Linked DNA regions of Homo sapiens: region 2 is linked to region 1. Evidence: promoter capture Hi-C in human tissues and cell types (Jung and others, 2019). All regions are on one chromosome and are shown on one strand. The core of a region is centred on a gene start or on the middle of the fragment in contact, and the rest is flanking DNA. Distances in the headings are between cores, read along the strand shown. Region 1 holds the start of CYP46A1 (cytochrome P450 family 46 subfamily A member 1). Region 2 holds the start of SLC25A47 (solute carrier family 25 member 47).

Region 1 (5,234 bases), core at 1,657-4,156:
GCTGCCCGATGTGTCAGAGAAGACGTATGCCCACTCCTCTCCTTAGCCGTATTTGGAGAGGTTCACGCTGACCACTGCTCCCTGATGCTGCTCTACACCTGCTTTCTGTGGGGCTCCAGGCTGTGCCTGGAGCTGTTCAGGACCTGGCTCTTCCCTCAAGGAACTGTGACAGTAGGTAGTCAGGCAGACATGAGCAGGGCAGGAGAGGGCCCTCCCCCAACGAGGAATGTCAAGTGGCCATCAGATGATGGTCAGGCAGTTGATAAACTGCTTCTCTCAAATAATAATTGGTCGCAGCCAGTGCCAGGGAGAGGCAGTCTCCCAACAGATGGAAACACCTGAAGCTGGTGATCAGCTTCCCGATAAGATCTCAGGAGCTGGGCGAGTGGGCTCAAGCATGCACACTAAGAGGCAAAATGGCAGCGATTAACTGGTAGATGACCTTCCTCTAGGAACACCGGTAAGGGAAAAACACCTCAAATGAGCGCGCACATAACTTCAGTAAACACAGCTGTGCATTCGGCCCCTCCCAGGTGCTGACAGGCCACCGCGCACGCAGACAGCCCGCCCCAAGGGAAGAATCAGGGGCGAAGAGAGATGCAACCCCCCGGGAGCATGCCAACCTACAAAACCCCGAGTCAAAGGTCAAGCCACACACTTGCCTCTCTCAAGTCACCTGCTTGGCCCTCTTCTAAGTATACTTTACTTCCTTTCATGCCTACTCCAAAACTTTTTTTTTTTTTTTTTTTTTTTTTTTTTCTGAGACGGAGTCTCGCTCTGTCACCCAGGCTGGAGTGCAGTGGCGCAATCTCGGCTCACTGCAAGCTCCGCCTCCCGGGTTCACGCCATTCTCCTGCCTCAGCCTCCCCAGTAGCTGGGACTACAGGCGCCCGCCACCACGCCCAGCTAATTTTTTGTATTTTTAGTAGAGATGGGGTTTCTCCGTGTTAGCCAGGATGGTCTCGATCTCCTGACCTCGTGATCCGCCCGCCTCGGCCTCCCAAAGTGCTGGGATTACAGGCGTGAGCCACTGCGCCCGGCCTCTAAAACTTTTAAATACATTTTCACTCCTGCTCTAAAACTTGCCTCTCACTCTGCCTTACGCCCCTCAGTCGAATTCTTTCTTCTGAGGAGGCAAGAACTGAGGCTGCTGCAGACCCATATGGATTTGCTGTTGCTAACAGTACCATTGTTCCAGGGGTCTGGAGAGACAAGGCAAGAGAAAGTCCTCTTCAGACAGTGCGATGCACTGTGTAATCTCAGGGAGCCGTTCCACAAACTGGATACTAAATGTGATGCCGTCACATTTCTTTTCTAGCTAACCACCCCAACCCACCTTCCAGTGCGCAGGAATCCACACCCTCCTTCTTGCAGCCTCATCCTCCCTCCAAATTGCCCTCAAGCCCCGGAGCTTTCACAGCCCACAGGGGACCTGGTGGCTCCGTTCCACACCTCACCCCAGCAGGGCCAGCCTGAGTTACCCTGTGGGCCTGCGGCTGCCTGTCACCGCCGCCACACGGGGGCGCCATAGCAAGCCAACATCCCCGAGTCCAACTGGGCGGCCGGGCCAGGCGCCGGGGGGATGGATGCTCTGCTGCCCACCTGTCCAGGCTGCGGTGGCCCCGAGGGCAGAAGTCCCGCCTCCTCCGTGCTGGGCACGGCTCTTAAGACTTGGCCGTCTCCGTCGCCCCTCAGCCCACACCCCTAACAGCCATGTCCCATGTCCCTAACTATACCTGGGAAGGCGGTACCAAGGTCCCCTTCGTTTTCCAACCCCCAACCTCTCCAGGACTGGCTCAAGCGTGGGGCAGGGGCATTGCCTCTTCTCAGAAACCCAGCAGCATCTACACTCCCTGGGCCTCTACCTCCAGCCCGGGGGACCTTTACCTGGGCTAGGAGTGGGCACACCTGGCCTTCCCCTGCCACGACTTTCACGCTGGGTGGTCCCTCGGGATAGGAATTGGGAACTAAAACGCCCAGAATTGGCCTCATCTTCATACGGGATGGGCAAGGAGACGCGGGTTACGACAGAGGGGGAAGCCCTGGTCATTATTTCGAAAATACCTTCTCCTCCGCTACCCCCGCCTCCCCGGCACATTTCCCGCTTTCCCTGGAGGGCGGACCCAGATTTTCATCCCTCCAACTCCAACTCCTTCGGGCCTGAGCCAGCGCCTCAGATGGGGCTTCGCCTGGTCTAGGAGGGTCCGCAGGCCCCCGAGTCTCTGGGAGAACAGCCTCCGGCCACGCCGTGCGCTCTCGGTCGCAGACACAGGCGTCCCTGGGTCCCGCAGGATCCTGCCACCAGCCCGCGGGCCCCGCTGGCGGACCACGGGCGCTAGGCGTGGACTGTCCGGGCGGAGGAGGCGCCCCGGGGCAACTGGAGAACAACTTTGGGGGTCTGGGGTTCCAAGGAGAAGTTTGGGAACAGTCGGCGTTATGCGGACTTTTGCAGGCTGGGATGGGGTTTCCGGGCAGGTTTGGGGGAAAAAGGAAGGGGCCTAAGACCGCGCGCGGAAAGATGCCGTTATTTGGAGGCGCCGAAGCGGGCGGAGCCAGCCAGCAGGACTTCGCGCCGCCGCCGGGCCAGAGCGCTGAGGATCGGCGTTGCCAGGGACAACGCGTTCTGGGCGGAGCTGCTGCTGGGGCGGACCTGAGTCTGAAGAGGTGGGGGCGGAGCCTGGGGGGCTGAGCCAGAAGCGGAGTTGTGATTGGTGAAGACCACATGCTCGGGGTGGGGCCTGGGCTGGGGCGGTGTGGAGGTTGGGGCGGAGCTCTGGGGGGCGGGGCGGGGCGGGGGAGGGCCCGGAGCGCCGGAGCCGGAGGCGGAGACGTGGTTGGCGGGGACTGTGCGCCCTGGGAGGGGTCGGAGTCGGCGGGGGCGGAGCCGAGCGGGCGGGGAGGGTGCTGGGTCGCGCCTGGCCTGGGGCCGAGGCGGCGCGCGGCGCTGACAGCTGAGTCGGCTCGCGGCCTCCCGGCCCCCTCGGCGCCCGGCCCGACCCTGGCCTGGCCTGCCCTGCCCCGGAGCCATGAGCCCCGGGCTGCTGCTGCTCGGCAGCGCCGTCCTGCTCGCCTTCGGCCTCTGCTGCACCTTCGTGCACCGCGCTCGCAGCCGCTACGAGCACATCCCCGGGCCGCCGCGGCCCAGGTGAGCGGGGCTGGGGGCGGGGCCTGGCTGGGGTGCTGGGACTGGGGGCCTGGGGACAGCGTCTAAGCCGGCGTCCAGGCCGGGGGTCCGGCCTCGCCTAGTGCGCGCGGCCGCTGGGAGTCGGCGGCCCCGAGAGGGGCGCTAACTATTCTTAGTAACAAATTACTCACAGCCGCAGCAGCTGCTGGGCGCCCACCGCGCACAGCTGGGCCCCACAAACGTGATGGCAGCCACAGCCCTTTCAGGTAGGCGCTATTGTTAACCCATCGTTCAGACGAGGAGACTGAGGCGCTCAGAGGCGAAGTCACCTGCCCAAGGTCACACGGTTGGTAAGCCTAGATTTAAGCCCAGGTCAGCCTGCCTCCAAAGTGGGCGCTGTTAACTTTGGGACTTGGACAGGGTCAGCCTGGATTGGAGCACGCTGTACTTCAGTCATGTTTCCTTTTGCTTGTATTTCTGTTCTGGGACACCCCATTTGTCTTCTCCTTAGTACTTACAATTGCATTCTTGGTCCCCACCCCCACGCAACTTACACCCCCCTCAACTTGCCAACCCCCCCCCACCCCCAGCTTAGCTTTGTGAAGCTTAAATTAAATGTGTCATTTCCCTGCTCCAAGGGCTTCCCATCACTTGACAACTAAATGCAGTTCTAAATTAAGTCGGCTGCATGGCCCGCGAGGCCCCTGCCGAGCACTCAGAACCCACTCTGCAGCTTGCTCTTTCCTCTTGCTTTCTCACTACTGCCCCCAGCCTTTCTTCTCCCAGCCTCCCCCTCCCCCCGCCCCCCCCGCAGCTTCCCTCCCCCCGGGTCCTTTTCTCAAGCCTGGGCCTGGCGGGCTTCTTCCTCTGCTTGTCTCAAACAGGCCTTGCCCAGCACCTTGTGTAAAGACCACCCAGCCCCAGACTTCTCAGGGGCCATCACCTCTGAGGTTACCTTCTTTCCACCTGTTGACTGTCTGTTCACCTGTTGACTGTCTCCCCCTCTAGAATGTGAGCCCCGGGAGGACAGGGACACTCTGTGTTCGCTTGTGTATCCCCAGTGCCTGGCGTGTTGCAGATCTCAATAAATATTTGTTGAATGAATGAATAAACAATTGTATTAGACACACTTTTTAAAATCTCAGGACATGAATATTCTGGAAGGCACCCATCTCCAGCACAAGCCAGATGTACTGGCGTTAGAAGCCTGAATCTCTGCTTGATGGGTTCAGGAAAGATCTCTGTGGCTGGTGACATAGGGAGGCACCTGTTCTCCCTGCTGGCTCTCTGCCCTTCTGGTGCTCTCTCTCTCTCTCCTTGCTTAGCTCCTCTGCCTTCTACTTTACCTGGATGCTTCTTCCCCCAGCCTTCCAGGTTTGGCTTCAATGCTAACTCCTCAGGGAGGTTCCTCCTGCTCCCCCAAAAATATTATGTTCATTTTATAAACCCTGAAATCACTGTAATTTTCCTTTACAGCATAATGTTAATTGGGCAATTATTTGTGCAAGTTTTTCCTAAGTGTCTCTTTTCCATGGGCCCCCTGTCTGTCTCAGTCACTGCTGCATCTCCGACATGTAGCAGCACATTGTACATGCATAGTAGACACTCTATGAATAGCAATTCAAGGTTGAATGGTGGAAATCTCCCGTGAGTTCCGTGGTGGACACTATCACCCTCTCAAGTTTTCAGAGAAGCCATCAGCACTTAGAATTGAATGAGTTTGGTGCTTGTTCTGATAAGTTTCATCGTTACTTGGTCTTCTCATAAACTCAAATGACCTGTTCTGGTCTCTGTGTCTTGAGAAAGCAGAATTTAAATCATCTTAAAAAAAATTGAAATGTAACTTGCATTCCACAAAATGTATTCTTTAGTGTATGATTCAGTGGTTTTTGGTACATTCACAGCACTGTGCAGCCATCGCCACCGATTTCAGAACTGTTTTGTCACCCCAGAAAGAAACCCCGTACCCATTAGCCATCACTCCTCATTTTCTCCCACCCCTCACAGCCCTGGCAACCATGAATCTGCTTTCTGTCTCTGTGGATTTGCCTGTTCTGGACATTTCATATAAATGGAATCATACAATATGTGGCCTTTTGTGTCTGGCTTC
Region 2 (5,234 bases), core at 1,101-3,600, 640 kb after region 1:
AATTCTCCTGCCTCAGCCTCCCAAGTAGCTGAGACTACAGGTGTCCACCACCACGCCTGGCTAATTTTTGTATTTTTAGTAGAGACGGGGTTTCACCATGTTGGCCAGGCTGGTCTTGAACTCCTGACCTTGTGATCTGCCCGTCTCAGCCTCCCAAAGTGCCAGGATTATGGGCGTGAGCCACCGTGCCCAGCCCAGGGCAAGGGCTTTTATCCGTTGTGTTTACTGATGTGTCCCCGTGCCTAAAACTCGACAGGCAGCCTTGGTTTCATGAGTAGAGGGCATGGGCGGGGCGGGCTGCGGTCCACGGGATGATGACGCGGCTGAGGCCGTGCAGATGGACAGTGGTGAAGGGAGCTGAACGTGAATTTAAGAGGTTGACACACAGGACTGGGGACTCTGGATGTGGGGTGGAGAGAGAGAGGTGTCCAGGGCAATTCCTGGGCTTCTGGCTCAGGTGCTATGGGTGGGTGGCACTTGCTGCATTGGATGCTCTACAGGAAACATGGATCTGAATGGTCCCTGTTCTTTCAGTTAGACACAGTGCTTCAAACTCCCTCAGCACCCAAGGTACTGGCTTCTTGAGTGCAGCATCAGCAATCAAACCCAAGTCTCAGCTGTATTTGCCCTGCCCAGAACAGGCCAGCCACCTCCTTCCTTCCAGACTCTATGCTTCTGTTAATGCAGCATTAGCATTTAGCTGGCCACTCTCACAGGGACACGCCCGGACTTTGCCCTGCGTGGTCGCAGATATGAGGCAGGTACTCTCTTCATTTCATGGATGCAGAAGCTGAGGCACAGAGTGGTCAAGGGGCTGGCCCACGGTCTCAGCTGTGAGTGGCAGAGCTGGGCTTTAAAGGCAGGCAGCCAGCTTCTAACCAGATGCTAAGCTTCATCCCCTTGAGGGCCAGGACTAGCATTGGGACTGGCCTTGGATGGGCCACTTCCCGCCCTTTGCCCTCTGCCGTGGCAGCTGGCACTGCTCATCCTGTGTCTCCCACTTGCCTATAAATAGCCGGGCTGGCAGGGGGGCTGTCCCTCCATCAGCTCTCAGCCTGCTCAAGGCCAGCCTGCAGGTCCAGCCATTAGAGGACAGGAAAACAGGTAGACAAAGAGCCTCCTGGCCTTGCCACCTGTCCCGAGGGCTGCCCAGATGGGCTGCCTGGGCCTCATGCATCAACACCTGCCCCTCCCCTATCCTGCTGGCATTCCAGTCTGTGGGGCACTCACTTAGATTCTGTTGCTCAGCAGCTGTGTGGCCGAGGTACCTGCACAGCCTCCCTGAGCCTTGGTGTCTCACGTGGAGATCTCACAAGGATGCAGTGCAGGTCACATGGGGCATGCACTGAGTCCCCTTGAGAGCCCTCTGGGGCCTCCCCAGGCGGGCCTGGATATCCCAGAGGGTGGGTTGTATGAGAGCATCTGGGGATCACATCCAGCCCTGCCGCCCTCGTGGCCTTGGACAAGCCCCCTTTCTGGGCCTCAATGGCCCCATCTGTGAAATGGGGAGCACTAACGCTGCGCTGTCTCCCTCCTGGGGCGGTGAGGAGGATCCTAGAGCCTGAGAGTGAGGGGAGCTTGGTGAACTGTAAGGTGGGGTGCACGGGCAAGGAGGTCCCTGTTTTTACAGTGCCCAGCAGACAGAAGTAGCGTCTTAGTGGAGAGGTTTCCCCTTCAGGAGGGCCCCAGCCGCTGGTTCAGAGGCTGAATCGGCAGCCTCTGTCCCTGGTTCATGTGGGCAGGGGGACTTGGTGGAGGCAGCCTTGGCCTTCGCCTCTGGGTCCAGGGAGACACATTCCCATGGAGCAGAGAGCAGGGAACCGGGGCAGCGGGAAGGGTGAGAGCAGATGGTGGGTGCTGTTCCTGGGTTCAGGCCTGTCCTTGCCACCCCCTCCCTCCCTGCCAACTGGAGCTCCTTGAGGACAGGGACTGGCTCTCATTTGCCTGGGTGTAGCATCAGCAAAGTAAGTGTTTTTTGAGTGAGTAAGAGAGGGAGCTTTGCAGGTTTCCCAGGCAGGGGTCCTGAGCAAATCCAGGGGAGTCGGGAAAGCCCAGGGGACACAGTGAAGGCCTGGGCTTGGACCTGGAGGGCGAGAGCTGTCACAGCCCCATCTCTGGACCTTCCCAGGAGGTGTTTGGATGTGATGGGGCAGTGCCCCTGCTCTCTGGTGCCTGTCACCTCCCGTGCTCTCTCCTGTGTTTTCCTGACACCTGGGTCCCGAGGGCACTGGGACAAGGGTCCCGGGGGCAGGGAGGGAGTCCAGCTGTGTGCCGCGTGGCCTCAGCAGGCTCTGCTTCCGGTCCCCTCCCCTGCCGCAGGTATTTAAGGTCTGAGAGGGGCCAGCTGGGAGCTGTTGAGGCCACCCTGGTGGCACCAAAGCCCTCTCAGGCAGGCAGACCCAGGGCCTCCCCGCCACACCTTGTTCATGGATTTTGTCGCTGGAGCCATCGGAGGTAACAGACAGGATGGTGGGCTGTGCAGACACTGCTGCTCCTGGGGGTAGCAGGAGGAACTGAGGTCCAGGAAGGTGCTGGGCAGCAGGGTGGGCTTTGAGGAGCCCCTCACCCCCCAGGATCTGCCAGGAGCAGAGAGCAGGTTCCTGGGAGGCTAAGGCTGGGTGAGGGGTGCTGCAGGGCCTGGGGGGCTGCACTGGCCTGGGAGGCTCAGACAGGAGGCTGAGGGCAGGCTGGGGATGGGGCTGTGGTCTAGGCATGGGGGCCGCTCGGGAGGCAGAGTCAGGGAGGCTGGGAGTCCTTGGTGTGGGGAGGGGTGATTGAGTCACTGGAAGGGAAAGAAGACCCCAGGAGAGGATCGAGAGGGTGGGGAGATGGGTAGGGAAGATGGGCCTGGTCCTGCAGCAGGGACTGGAAGGGGCGGGCAGAGGACGGTAAGGGGCCTGGCGAGGTGGCTCCACCTGCCCTGCTGGGTGTGTGCACCTGGCTAGGCCTCCAGAGCCTGCTTCTCAGGCCAGACTCTGCTGGAGAAACCGTTCTCCCTCCTGGGGAAGGGCTCCTGGTGAAAGACTGATTCAGGGAGATAACCAGGCCCTGGGACACGGGCTCAGCTCCATCCCGTGGGCTGTGGGGGCTGTTCTGAGTGGGCACTCCTGCCCTTGCTGGTCTTGTGAAACATCGGTGGGTGGCGTCAGTACTTCTGGAAACAGCATGGGGGTTGGGAGAGCGGCCCAGCTCTGGCCCTGGGAGAAGGCAGAGTACCTGCCCCATTAACAGGCTTTTTCTTTTTTTTTTCCCTTGAGATGGAGTCTTGTTCTGTCGCCTAGGCTGAAATGCACTGGCGTGATCTTGGCTCACTGCAACCTCTGCCTCCTGGGTTCAAGTGATTCTCCTGCCTCAGCCGCCCAAGTAGCTGGGATTACAGACATGCACCACAATGTCTGGCTAATTTTTGGGTTTTTAGTAGAGGCAGGGTTTTACCATGTTGGTCAGGCTGGTCTCAAACTCCTGACCTCAAGCGATCCGCACGCCTCAGCCTCCCAAAGTGCTGGGATTACAGGCGTGAGCCACTGCGCCCGGCCTCCATTAGCAGCCTTTCTCAGCCCCAGCTAGGTGCCAGCCTGGGGCCAGCCGCTCCCTTCCTCAGGGAAGCTACTGGACTTGCCTGACATCACACAGCTGGAAAGGGCTCCTGAGTCTGGCATCTTTCCTCCGGAGCCATGAGGAGGCCTAGGTAAAGGGCTCTCACTCTGTGCCTGGCCCTGGGTCATGGGGTGTCAGCCCTCGGCCGTGTCCTTGGAGAACTCCAGTTCTGGAGGTGGCGGTGGCATACAACAGCAAGGCCATATGACAAGGGCTCTGCTCAACATGTTCCAGGCACAGAGGCAGCCCAGAGTACAGAGGCCAGAGAGGGCTCCAGAGAGGAGGTAGTGTCGTGGCAGGGCTTTGATGGATGAGTAGGAGCCTGGTGAGGTGTGTGAGGTGTATGGGAGGGTTAAGAAGGGTCGTTCTCTCCAAGCCACTTGGTCTTTTGCCTTACATTTATTCACTTCATTCTTTCATCCCACATATTTACTGAGTCCTGGGCTACAGTGAATAGGGTACAGTCCCCATGTGCCTATTTTCTTCCATTGGCCTTTACCACCTCCCCTCAGGGGAGAGAATGGTCCTCCCAGGGACCACCCTGTTTCCCCTCTGACTTCCCTGTGGCAGTGCTGGGGCTTGGATGTTGAGGCCTGGCACCCGAGGCCTCTCTGCAAGGTGTGGACTCCCGGCCCTCTCTCTTCCACACACGCTTGTGGTTCCAGGCAGTCCTGGCTCTTCACGAACCCCGGTGTGGGCTTCGGCTTCCCTCCTCCTGGCCTTTGCCCAGGCTGTGCCTCCCCCTCCTTCCACCCACGCAGCCAAAACACAGTTACCGCCTGGCTCACAGGCAAACCCTCCATGGGCTGACGGCTTGAGGGCAAGGTCTGCCTGGCTCAGAGACAGGGCCCAGCTAGGGTAGGATCAAACGTTCTCTCAGAGCATGACGCCCGTGGGGAGGCCGGGGCATGTCGGCATGTCTTTGGCCCAAGGCAGCGAGGACGAGGCAGTCCCGGGCCAGGACTCAGGGAAGGGGAACTTGCTTGCAAAGGGTAGAAGACACTCGGAGGCTCAATTTCCTCATCTCTAAAACGGGGGTGCCCTCAGGATTGATGAGACCTGGTGCAGACCAGAAGGGCCAAATGTGGGTCTGCCCTTGGGGGAGCCCAGTCAGCGTGCGCTCTGCTTCTGCTTCCCTGCAATGGGGTTGAACTGCTCGCCGGCCCCACTCTCCTCACCGTGGGCCTCTTCTTTCCTTGCAGGCGTCTGCGGTGTTGCTGTGGGCTACCCCCTGGACACGGTGAAGGTGCGGCAATAGCCAGCCCCCCAACCATCCTAAGGCCCCTGCACCTGTCCACGGCCAGGAGACTTTTCTAGAATGCTAAACAGACCCACCCCTTTCCTACCCAAATGCCTTCAATGGCTCCCCATAGCCCCTGGGACTATGTCAGTCCCACTTTCTCACCCCTGTGCCCCAGGTTTCTCGTCTAACACAAGGCTCCCTGTCCCTGCTGTGCCACCGTCCAGCATGGCTGGGACAATCAAGAGTGTGACTCTGCCCCTTCCCCAGGGCCTGCTGGCCTTGCCCTAGGCCTGGAGCCGCTCGTGCCTGAAGCCCACTTCTCCTGCAGGTCAGGATCCAGACGGAGCCAAAGTACACAGGCATCTGGCACTGCGTCCGGGATACGTATCACCGA

What was found. The method cuts DNA at HindIII sites, captures the fragments that hold promoters and counts their contacts. A contact is called where the count stands out against the background at its distance.
Region 2: the fragment with the promoter of SLC25A47 here is called in contact with the fragment with the promoter of CYP46A1 in region 1 in 1 of the 25 tissues and cell types used here (adrenal gland).

Annotation. Positions count from the first base shown.
Region 1 is chr14:99,681,392-99,686,625 of GRCh38, forward strand. It overlaps CYP46A1 (cytochrome P450 family 46 subfamily A member 1), which reads left to right and starts at 2,907. Exons shown (of 15, transcript NM_006668.2): 1 at 2,907-3,145. The coding sequence starts at 3,027. RefSeq lists an enhancer at 1,402-1,471 and a silencer at 2,712-3,291. The HindIII fragment of the contact is 8,159 bases long and covers 1-5,234 here.
Region 2 is chr14:100,320,989-100,326,222 of GRCh38, forward strand. It overlaps SLC25A47 (solute carrier family 25 member 47), which reads left to right and starts at 2,351. Exons shown (of 6, transcript NM_207117.4): 1 at 2,351-2,454; 2 at 4,800-4,843; 3 at 5,169-5,234. The coding sequence starts at 2,427. The HindIII fragment of the contact is 19,339 bases long and covers 1-5,234 here.